3 separate regions of the Homo sapiens genome follow, and all the other regions are linked to region 2. The links are contacts of gene promoters, found by promoter capture Hi-C in human tissues and cell types (Jung and others, 2019). All regions are on one chromosome and are shown on one strand. The core of a region is centred on a gene start or on the middle of the fragment in contact, and the rest is flanking DNA. Distances in the headings are between cores, read along the strand shown.

Evidence for each region. Contacts are between HindIII fragments. The study calls those that stand out against the background at their distance.
Region 1: a fragment that was not itself captured here is called in contact with the fragment with the promoter of OR6J1 in region 2 in 1 of the 25 tissues and cell types used here (lymphoblastoid cells).
Region 3: a contact is called between a fragment that was not itself captured here and the fragment with the promoter of OR6J1 in region 2, in 2 of the 25 tissues and cell types used here (adrenal gland and lymphoblastoid cells).

The regions. Positions count from the first base shown.
Region 1 is chr14:22,316,001-22,319,233 of GRCh38, forward strand. It overlaps TRA. Among named protein-coding and RNA genes, the nearest start is that of TRD-AS1, 170 kb to the right of the region's middle. The HindIII fragment of the contact is 9,832 bases long and covers 1-3,233 here.
Region 2 is chr14:22,642,879-22,645,926 of GRCh38, forward strand. It overlaps OR6J1 (olfactory receptor family 6 subfamily J member 1), which reads right to left and starts at 1,474. Exons shown (of 2, transcript NM_001348233.2): 1 at 1,220-1,474. The HindIII fragment of the contact is 14,040 bases long and covers 1-2,129 here.
Region 3 is chr14:22,348,636-22,351,754 of GRCh38, forward strand. It overlaps TRA. Among named protein-coding and RNA genes, the nearest start is that of TRD-AS1, 130 kb to the right of the region's middle. The HindIII fragment of the contact is 3,160 bases long and covers 1-3,093 here.

The sequences.
Region 1 (3,233 bases), core at 565-3,064, 330 kb before region 2:
AAGATACAAGAATGTCTAATATGCATATGAAAAGTTACTCATGATTAGTCATGAGACAAATGCAAATCAAAATCACAAGATATCACTTCGCAAAAGTAAAAGGCTATGACTTTTTAAAAAGGACAATAATGAGTCTTATCAAGGATGTGAGAAATTAGAACCCTCATACATTGTTGGTGGGGATGTAAAATGATGCTATCACTTTGGCAAACAGTTTGGCAGCACCTCAAAATGTGAAACATAGAATTAGCATATGACCCAGCAATTCCAGCCCGATGTATCTACCCACAATGCATATGTCCCCACAAAAACCTGTGCATGAATGTTCATAACAGCATTGTTTATGGTAGTCAAAAGTGTAAGTAATCCAAATGGACAAACCAGATGTGGTATCTCTATACAATGGAATATTATTCAGCCATAAAAAGGAATAAAGTACTGACACCTACTACAACATGAAGAATCTTGAAAACATTATGCTAAGTGGAAAAATCCAGACACAAAATGGCCATATTGTGTATTTCATTTATATGAAATACCAAGAATAGGCAAATCCAAAGTCAGAAAGCAGTGTGGCTGCCAGAAGCTGAAAGAAGTGGGGAGTGGGGAGGGACTACTTAATAGATGTGTGGGGTTTCTTTTGGGGAAAATATTCTGAACTAGATAGTGGTGATGGTTGCGCAACATTGTGAATACACTAAAAGCTACCATATTATATACTCTAAAGTGATTAAAAGTATGAATTTTATGTTGTGTGACTTTTACCTCAATAAAAAAGAAGACAACCAAAAAATCTAAATGTGATTCTTAATGGGACAAGAAGCTCTAAAAAAATTAAATTCTTACTATTCCATTGCAAACAATTCCAATAAGTATGTGAAATATGGAGCCATCTGATAAAACCTATAGCAGTACGGGAAGGTATACTAACTCAGCTTTTAACTAAAAATTATACAAATGTTGACTGACACAAAGGCAAAGGAGAATAGCAAAGATGGCATGAGCCTTTAAGGAAATCGTTAAAAAGTGGAAACCTTTTAATGAATGCAGTTAAGGCTTAAAGAAAATGTGAAGTGGAACATAAAAAGCGTTTTAGAACAGTTTGGAGAAATGAAGAGGGTGGGGTGGGGAGGAAGGTTAATTTACATATCGAGGAAAACAGAATAATTTTGGTAGAGAATAAAGAAGAGGTAGGGCACTTCGACCCCTGGTTTCATCCTCTATTCTTCATCAAATACAATAATTTTGGGCCGGGCGCAGTGGCTCATCCCTGTAATCCTAGCACTTTGAGAGGCTGAGGCAGGCATATCACCCGAGGTCAGGAGTTCGAGACCAGCCTGGCCAACATGGCAAAAACCCCATCTCTACTAAAAATACACAAATTAGCTGGGGGTGGCAGTGGGCACCTGTAATCCCAGCTACTCTGGAGGCTGAGGCAGGAGAATTGCTTGAACCTGGGAGGCGGAGGTTGCAGTGAGCCAAGATCATGCCATTGTACTCCAGCCTGGGCAACAAGAGCAAAACTCCATCTCAAAAAAAAAAAAAAAAGAAAAGAATAATTTTCAAACTGGAAATGAAGAAATGAAAAATTATGACAGATAAAAAGATACTAAGAGAGAACTTAGATGCTTTGAAAATGATCAATTCTTCTGGGTCTTTTAAACTAATCCCCAACATACAAAAAGAATTTGCAGGCATGGTTGGCAAGGCATTGGGAGAATTTTTTGAAAACCTATCAGGAATGAAGGAAATCCCCAACTCAGGAACACAGAAATAGTGGATCGATACCCAGCAAAATTCTAGAGCAGATTATTAACAGATAATGTGTGGGCTCTTAGAAAATAATGCAGTGATCAGTACCAAGCCAGAATGAGCTCACTAAAGACATTTTTAAAACAAGTCCTAAATTCAAAGGACTTCCGTGGACTTCAAACGTGTCAAATATTTGCAAGATATTTAATAATTTGTTTTTCACTATATCAATGGGAAAAATATATATATATTATCATTTGTTGAGTGTTGTGTTTATCACAGGCCCTGTTGTACTACATATGTAATAAGAACTAACATTTATTTATCAAGGGCTTAATGTGCATGAAGTGTTGTTCTAAATGCTTTGCATACATTAATTCACTTAATCTTCACTACAACCTCATGAAGTAGGTGCAATCCTTATTATAGATAAGGAAACTATCTTTAATACAGAAGAATTAACTAACTTGCCCAAGAACACAGAGTTAGTAAGGGAAGACCTGGCATACAAATACAGTTTGACAAGCCCAAAGCCTGCATTCTTAAATTCTATACTTTGTTACCTCCCAATGTTATCTGTAATCCCCACCACAAAACTATAATTTTGGTATTGTTACACCCATTTTATGAATAAGGAGACTGAGGATTGGAGTATTGAATAGAAAAATCCAGTAGAATCTAGTAAGTAGTAAGACTAAGGCTCAAACCTAAGTTCATTTGGATCTAGACTGTATCCTCTATTCACTTTGTCATTCTGCGTAATGCTAGACTTGGTGAATTCTCAGCTGAAAGAACGGCCATGTATAAATATACAATTTAGAAAAATGTCCCTATTGTTACACCTCATGATTTTATCCTTCACTTTGACCTGTTCACATTGATCTTATGTAAATTCACACAAGGTATGCCCATTAAATGTACAAATAGCAAATTTTGAGATCGGTATATGATGATCATGTCCTAATGATCTCCAGCTAATATGTTTATTTACAGCATAAATTAAAGATTGAAAATCATCTGAACAAACTGGAAAGATAGACTGAAACTGTCAAAATAGAATTTAATGGAGATAACTATATATTTATACAGTAGTTTTATAAAAATGAGTTGTAATGTCTGGAAGAAGGGATCCTGAATTTTTAGTATTTGTTGTGTAACGCGCTCATAGTAATTAAGGAAAAGATTTTCTGAAAGGATATTAGAAATTCTCATAAAATCAATTTGTGCAAAATACAGCTAGGACTCACAGAAAGAAGAAAATCACCAATTGGCTATGCTTTCCGAATCTACTTTTCTCTGGATGTATGATCTGTTCTCCTCCTGGGAAACCAGATTCCACTGTAAGCCTGTCATATTCTACTCCACAATAACTTCAGTTTGAACATACCCAGCTCTGTTTGCTAAGAGATGAGTCTGGTTTGAATAGCACAGGGCTTTAAAGCTCTAGTTACACTGTCTAACTGCGGTTTCTGTACCTCTAG
Region 2 (3,048 bases), core at 224-2,723:
TGCAGCCCCAAACTCCTGGGCTCAAGTGATCCTCCTGCCTCAGCCTCCCAAGTAGCTAGGACTACAGGTGCACACCATCACACCTGGATAATTTTTTTTTTTTTTTGAGATGGAGTTTTACTCTTGTCACCCAGGCTGGAGTGCAATGGTGCAATCTCTGGTCACTGCAACCTCCGCCTCCCCGGTTCAAGCGATTCTCCAGCCTCAGCCTCCCAAGTAGCTGGGATTACAGGCGTCTGCCACCACGCCCAGCAGATTTTTGTATTTTTAGTAGAGACAGGGTTTCCCCATGTTGGCCAGGCTGGTCTCGAACTCCTGACTTCAAGTGATCCATCCACCTCGGCCTCCCAAAGTGCTGGGATTACAGGCGTGAGCCACCGTGCCTAGCCTAATTTTTTTTTTAATTAGAAAATAATTTTACTTTTTTTATTTTTTGAGACAGGGTCTCACTCTGTCACCCAGGCTGGAGTGCAGTGGTGCAATCATAACTCACTACATCCTCGACCTCCCAGGCTCAAGTGATCCTCCCACCTCAGACTCCCAAGTAACTGGGACTACAGGCACACACCACCATGCCCGGCCAATTTTTGTATTTTTTGTAGTGATAGGGGTTTTGCCATATTGCCCAGGCTGGTCTCGAACTCCTGGGCTCAAGCGATCTTCCTGTCTTAGCATCCCAAAGTGCTGAGATTACAGGTGCAGGCCACTTACTATAATATTTGTAAAGGTTCATCTATGTTATAGCATGGATCATTGCCAAGGATCTTAAAGAACCAATGTAGCAGGAGAAAAGGCCACAGCCCCAAGAAGAAGCCCTGACCCCTGGCATGGCAGAAACACACACACACACACACACACACACACACACACACACACACACACACACAGAGAGAGAGAGAGAGAGAGAGAGAGAGAGAGAGACAGCAGTTACTAAATGTAGATATATGCACAGTCTGTAAAATCTAGAAGAATAGTATGGAGGATGAATTTGGACTTGGTCACCAAATCTGGAAATGGTAGGATGAGGGATCAAGACTTAATTCATTTAACTCTCAAAATACATCTTTGCATAAGGTGCAACTGCACCCACTGGAAAATCATTTCCTCACATCAGAAATATTAAGAAGCTTAATGAAGGCAAAGATACACACCTGAGATTATAACAGGAACAGCTGCTCCCAGCCAGCCCCCAAATGCCAAACGATTGGTCTGCACTCACCTCGGCTAGGGTTGCCTTATGCCACCTCCACGGCTCAGTCTGTTCACCTGGGATTTGCTGCCACCTAGGATCTTCCACGGTAATTATCTTGACCAAAAAGCCACAGTGCATTCCACATGAGAGCAGCAGTGTTTGACAGGTGAAATGAGCCCTTCCCAACTCATGTGGATTGTTGCCTTAGCTGTGACCTCTTGTCCGACGAGCATGCACTTGTGTTGTAGACAGCTGGAAGGTACATGTTGGATTTTTACACTGCTGAGGAAGTTACAAGGTATGACATCCATTCCAGCATAGAGAGGTCTACAAATCCTCTTGCCCTAATCCTGAGTGTGTGAGGAAATCACCTTCGGTTAAGCATTGACCAGCTGCACCTCCCACACTGTCTACACAATCTGATCCAGTTGGGGAGAGAAAAGGGGCACTCTCCACTAAGCTCCTGGATGGTGCTTTATTCTCCTCTCCTGCTACCATCTTTCCTGCACCCTCTCCAGTCTTCTGCTCAGCCCAGTCTTCTGGGTGCTTCTTGATTCCAGAGAAAATGGGAAAAGAAACACTGTGTTACCTGATGGACAACAGCCATCAACCTGCTTCTTCCTCTGTCCCCTCAACCCAACGTGCACTACCACCACCACCATCCCCATCATATTTTTTTCAGAGACTGGCAGGCCAAGCGTCCCAAGGACTAAACTTCCTCTAGGGTTACTGCAGGATAGTCAAATCCTGTTGAGGGGTAGCTGGTGCATGAGAAAACTCTGGACTTGAAGCCAAGAGTCTGGGTTCAAGTCCCACCTGTGCCTTTTACCATTCTTGAGACTGGAAAAATTGCCTCCATTTTCATACTATCTGCAAATGAATCCTCATGTGACAAACAGCGGTAATGCTCTTTTCCTCCTCTTCCTCATGAGGTTGAGAAGCACAAAACGGAAAATAAGATAACTCATATGATAATCGATCATTGCCAAGGATCGTGAAGAACAAATGTATGATAATTCATATGATGTGTGAAATCATAAAACACCATATTGCTTTATTTTCTAGAACCCCTCCTATTCTGCAATACTGGAAAAGAACAAACCTTATCTTCCTTGTCCCTACTGAGATATTGATCATCCCACCCTAGAGGGAAGAATACTGTCCCTTCTGGCTCTGGAATACATCTCATCAGGCCCATGCTTCTGCCTTAATCAACTATTCTCCCCTTGGACAGCATATCTGGTTGGCTACAAAGTGTGAAGACAAAGGGAAGATGCTTCTCTACATGGGAATTTCGGTTGCCCAGGATTCCTGGAAATGAAGAAACTACTTCCTGTCCTCCACCATCTGCACTCTACAGAGGAGTCAGTAAGCTGGAAGGGATTCAGCGGGAGGACTCAGAAATACTCACATTTGCCTAAATAAGGTAGAGGGGGCTGGCCCCCAGCATATCCTGCCCACACAGCTGCCCCAGGCTTCCGTGCTGGGCGCTGAGGCTTGCGTTGCTGCAAACAGACTCTGCACTGTCAGGGCTGAAGGGGGCATACTCTAGAAGGGTCCCATGTTTGGACCCCACTTGGGAGGGTTGGGGTGGGATTGGCTCAGGTGAGAGCATGCACTTTCTGAGAAACCTCCAAACATGGGGCACTCCTCAGGGGCACATTACGAAGCTGTCCCTGAACACCAAGCCTGAGTCTGATGCCCCTGAGGCCCACTTAGGAAAGGATGCAAACCTAAACATCTACACTAACAAGAACTGGGAACAGAACACTAGCCAAGATCAACACCCCCAGGCCTATCTCAGAGAGCCTCACAGCATACAGTCCTCCATCCACCCCCTCTCCAGCCCCACTGTG
Region 3 (3,119 bases), core at 264-2,763, 290 kb before region 2:
TAATTAAAGTAATTCTGAAACCAATAAAGTACTTTTTTCTGCATAATTCTAGGGATTTATGCTTAGGAAAGAATTTGTAATAAAGATCCACACACAAAGATATCTATCAGAATGTAGTATATAACACCACAAATCATAAATGAGTCAGGTATGGTGGCTCATGCCTGTAATCCTAGAACTTTGGGAGGCCGAGGTGGGAGGACCACTTGCAGACAGGAGCGCAAGACCTGCCTGGGCAACATAATGAGATGCTGTCTCAAAAATTTTTTAAAAAGAAACAATTTAGGGGGGCGGTTCCAAGATGGCCAAATAGGAACAGCTCCAGTCTGCAGCTCCCAGCATGAGCGATGCAGAAGACAGGTGATTTCTGCATTTCCAACTGAGGTATCGGGTTCATCTCACTGGGGCTTGTAGGACACTGGGTGCAGGACAGTGGGTGCAGCCTATCGAGCATGAGCCAAAGAAGGGCGAGGCATTGCCTCACCCAGGAAGTGCAAGGGGTCAGGGAATTCCCGTTCCTAGCCAAGGGAAGATGTGACAGATGGCACCTGGAAAATTGGGTCACTCCCACCCTAATACTGCACTTCTCCAATGGTCTCAGCAAATGGCACCCCAGGAGATTACATCCCGCACCTGGCTCAGAGGGTCCCACGCCCACGGAGCCTTGCTCATTGCTAGCACAGCAGTCTGAGATCAAACTGCAAGGCTGCAGTGAGGCTGGGGGAGGGGTGCCTGCCATTGCTGAGGCTTGAGTAGGTAAACAAAGCAGCCAGGAAGCTTGATCTGGGTGGAGCCCACCCCAGCTCAAGGAGGCCTGCCTGCCTCTGTAGACTCCACCTTGGGGGGCAGGGCATAGCAAAACAAAAGGCAGCAGAAACCTCTGCAGACTTAAATGTCCCTGTCTGACAGCTTTGAAGAGGATAGTGGTTCTCCCAGCAAGGAGTTTCAGATCCGAGAATGGACAGACTGCCTCCTCAAGTGGGTCCCTGACCCCCGAGTAGCCTAACTGGGAGGCATCCACCAGTAGGGGCAGACTGACACCTCACATGGCCGGGTACCCCTCTGAGATGAAGCTTCCAGAGGAACAAGCAGCAGCAACATTTGCTGTTCAGCAATATTCACTGTTCTGCAGCCTCCGCTGCAGATACCCAGGAAAACAGAGTATGGAATGGACCTCCAGCAAAGTCCAACAGACCTGCAGCTGAGGATCCTCACGTTAGAAGGAAAACTAACAAACAGAAAGGACGTCCACACCAAAACCCCATCTGTACATCACCATCATCAAAGACCAAAGGTAGATAAAACCACAAAGATGGGGAAAAAACAGAGTAGAAAAGCTGAAAATTCTAAAAATTGGAGGGCCTCTCCCCCTCCAAAGGAATGCAGCTCCTTGCCAGCAACAGAGCAAAGCTGGATGGAGAATGACTTTGACGAGTTGAGAGAAGAAGGTTTCAGATGATCAAACTTCTCTGAGCTAAAGGAGGAAGTGTGAACCCATTGTAAAGAAGCTAAAAACCTTGAAAAAAGATTAGATGAATGGCTAACTAGAATAACCAGTGTAGAGAAGTCCTTAAATGACCTGATGGAACTGAAAACCATAGCACGAGAACTACGTGACAAATGCACTAGCTTCAGTAGCCAATTTGATCAAGTGGAAGAAAGGGTATCAGTGATTGAAGATCATGAAGTGAAGCAAGAAGAGAAGTTTAGAGAAAAAAGAGTAAAAAGAAATGAACAAAGCCTCCAAGAAATATGGGACTATGTGAAAAGACAAAATCTACGTCTGATTGGTGTACGTGAAAGTGACAGGGAGAATGGAACCAAGTTGGAAAACACTCTGCAGGATACTATCCAGGAGAACTTCCCCAACCTAGCAAGGCAGGCCAACATTCAAATTCAGGAAATACAGAGAATGCCACAGAGATACTCCTCAAGAAGAGCAACTCCAAGACACATAATTGTCAGATTCACCAAATTGAAATGAAGGAAAAAATATTAAGGGCAGCCAGAGAGAAACGTCAGGTTACCCACAAAGGGAAGCCCATCAGACTAACAGCAGATCTCTCAGCAGCAACTCTACAAGCCAGAAGAGAGTGGGGGCCAATATTCAACATTCTTAAAGAAAGGAATTTTCAACCCAGAATTTCATATCCAGACAAACCAAGCTTCACAAGTGAAGGAGAAATAAAATCCTTTACAGACAAGCAAATGCTGAGAGATTTTGTCACCACTAGTCCTGCCCTACAAGAGCTCCTGAAGGAAGCACTAAACATGGAAAGGAACAACCAGTACCAGCCACTACAAAAACATGCCAAATCGTAAAGACCATAGATGCTAGGAAGAAACTGCATCAACTAATGAGCAAAATAACCAGCTAAGAACATAATGACAGGATCAAATTCACACAATATTAACCTTAAATGTAAATGGACTAAATGCTCAAATTAAAAGACACAGACTGTATTCAGGAGACCCATGTCACGTGCAGAGACACACATAGGCTCAAAATAAAGGAATGGAGGAAGATCTACCAAGCAAATGGAAAACAAAAAAAGGCAGGGGTTGCAATCCTAGTCTCTGATAAAACAGACTTTAAACCAACAAAGATCAAAAGAGACAAAGAAGGCCATTACATAATGGTAAAGGGATCAATTCAACAAGAAGAGCTAACTATCCTAAATATATATGCACCCAATACAGGAGCAGCCAGATTCATAAAGCAAGTCCTTAGAGACCTACAAAGAGACTTGGATTCCCACCCAATAATAATGGGAGACTTTAACACCCCACTGTCAACATTAGACTGATCAATGAGACAGAAAGTTAACAAGGATATCCAGGAATTGAACTCAGCTCTGCACCAAGTGGACCTAATAGACATCTACAGAACTCTCCACCCCAAATCAACAGAATATACATTCTTCTCAGCAACACATTGCACTTATTCCAAAATTGACCACATAGTTGGAAGTAAAGCACTCCTCAGCAAATGTAAAAGAACAGAAATTATAGCAAACTGTCTCTTAGACCACAGTGCAATCAAACTAGAACTCAGGATTAAGAAACTCACTCAAAACCGCTCAACTACATGGAAACTGAACAACCTGCTCCTGAATGAC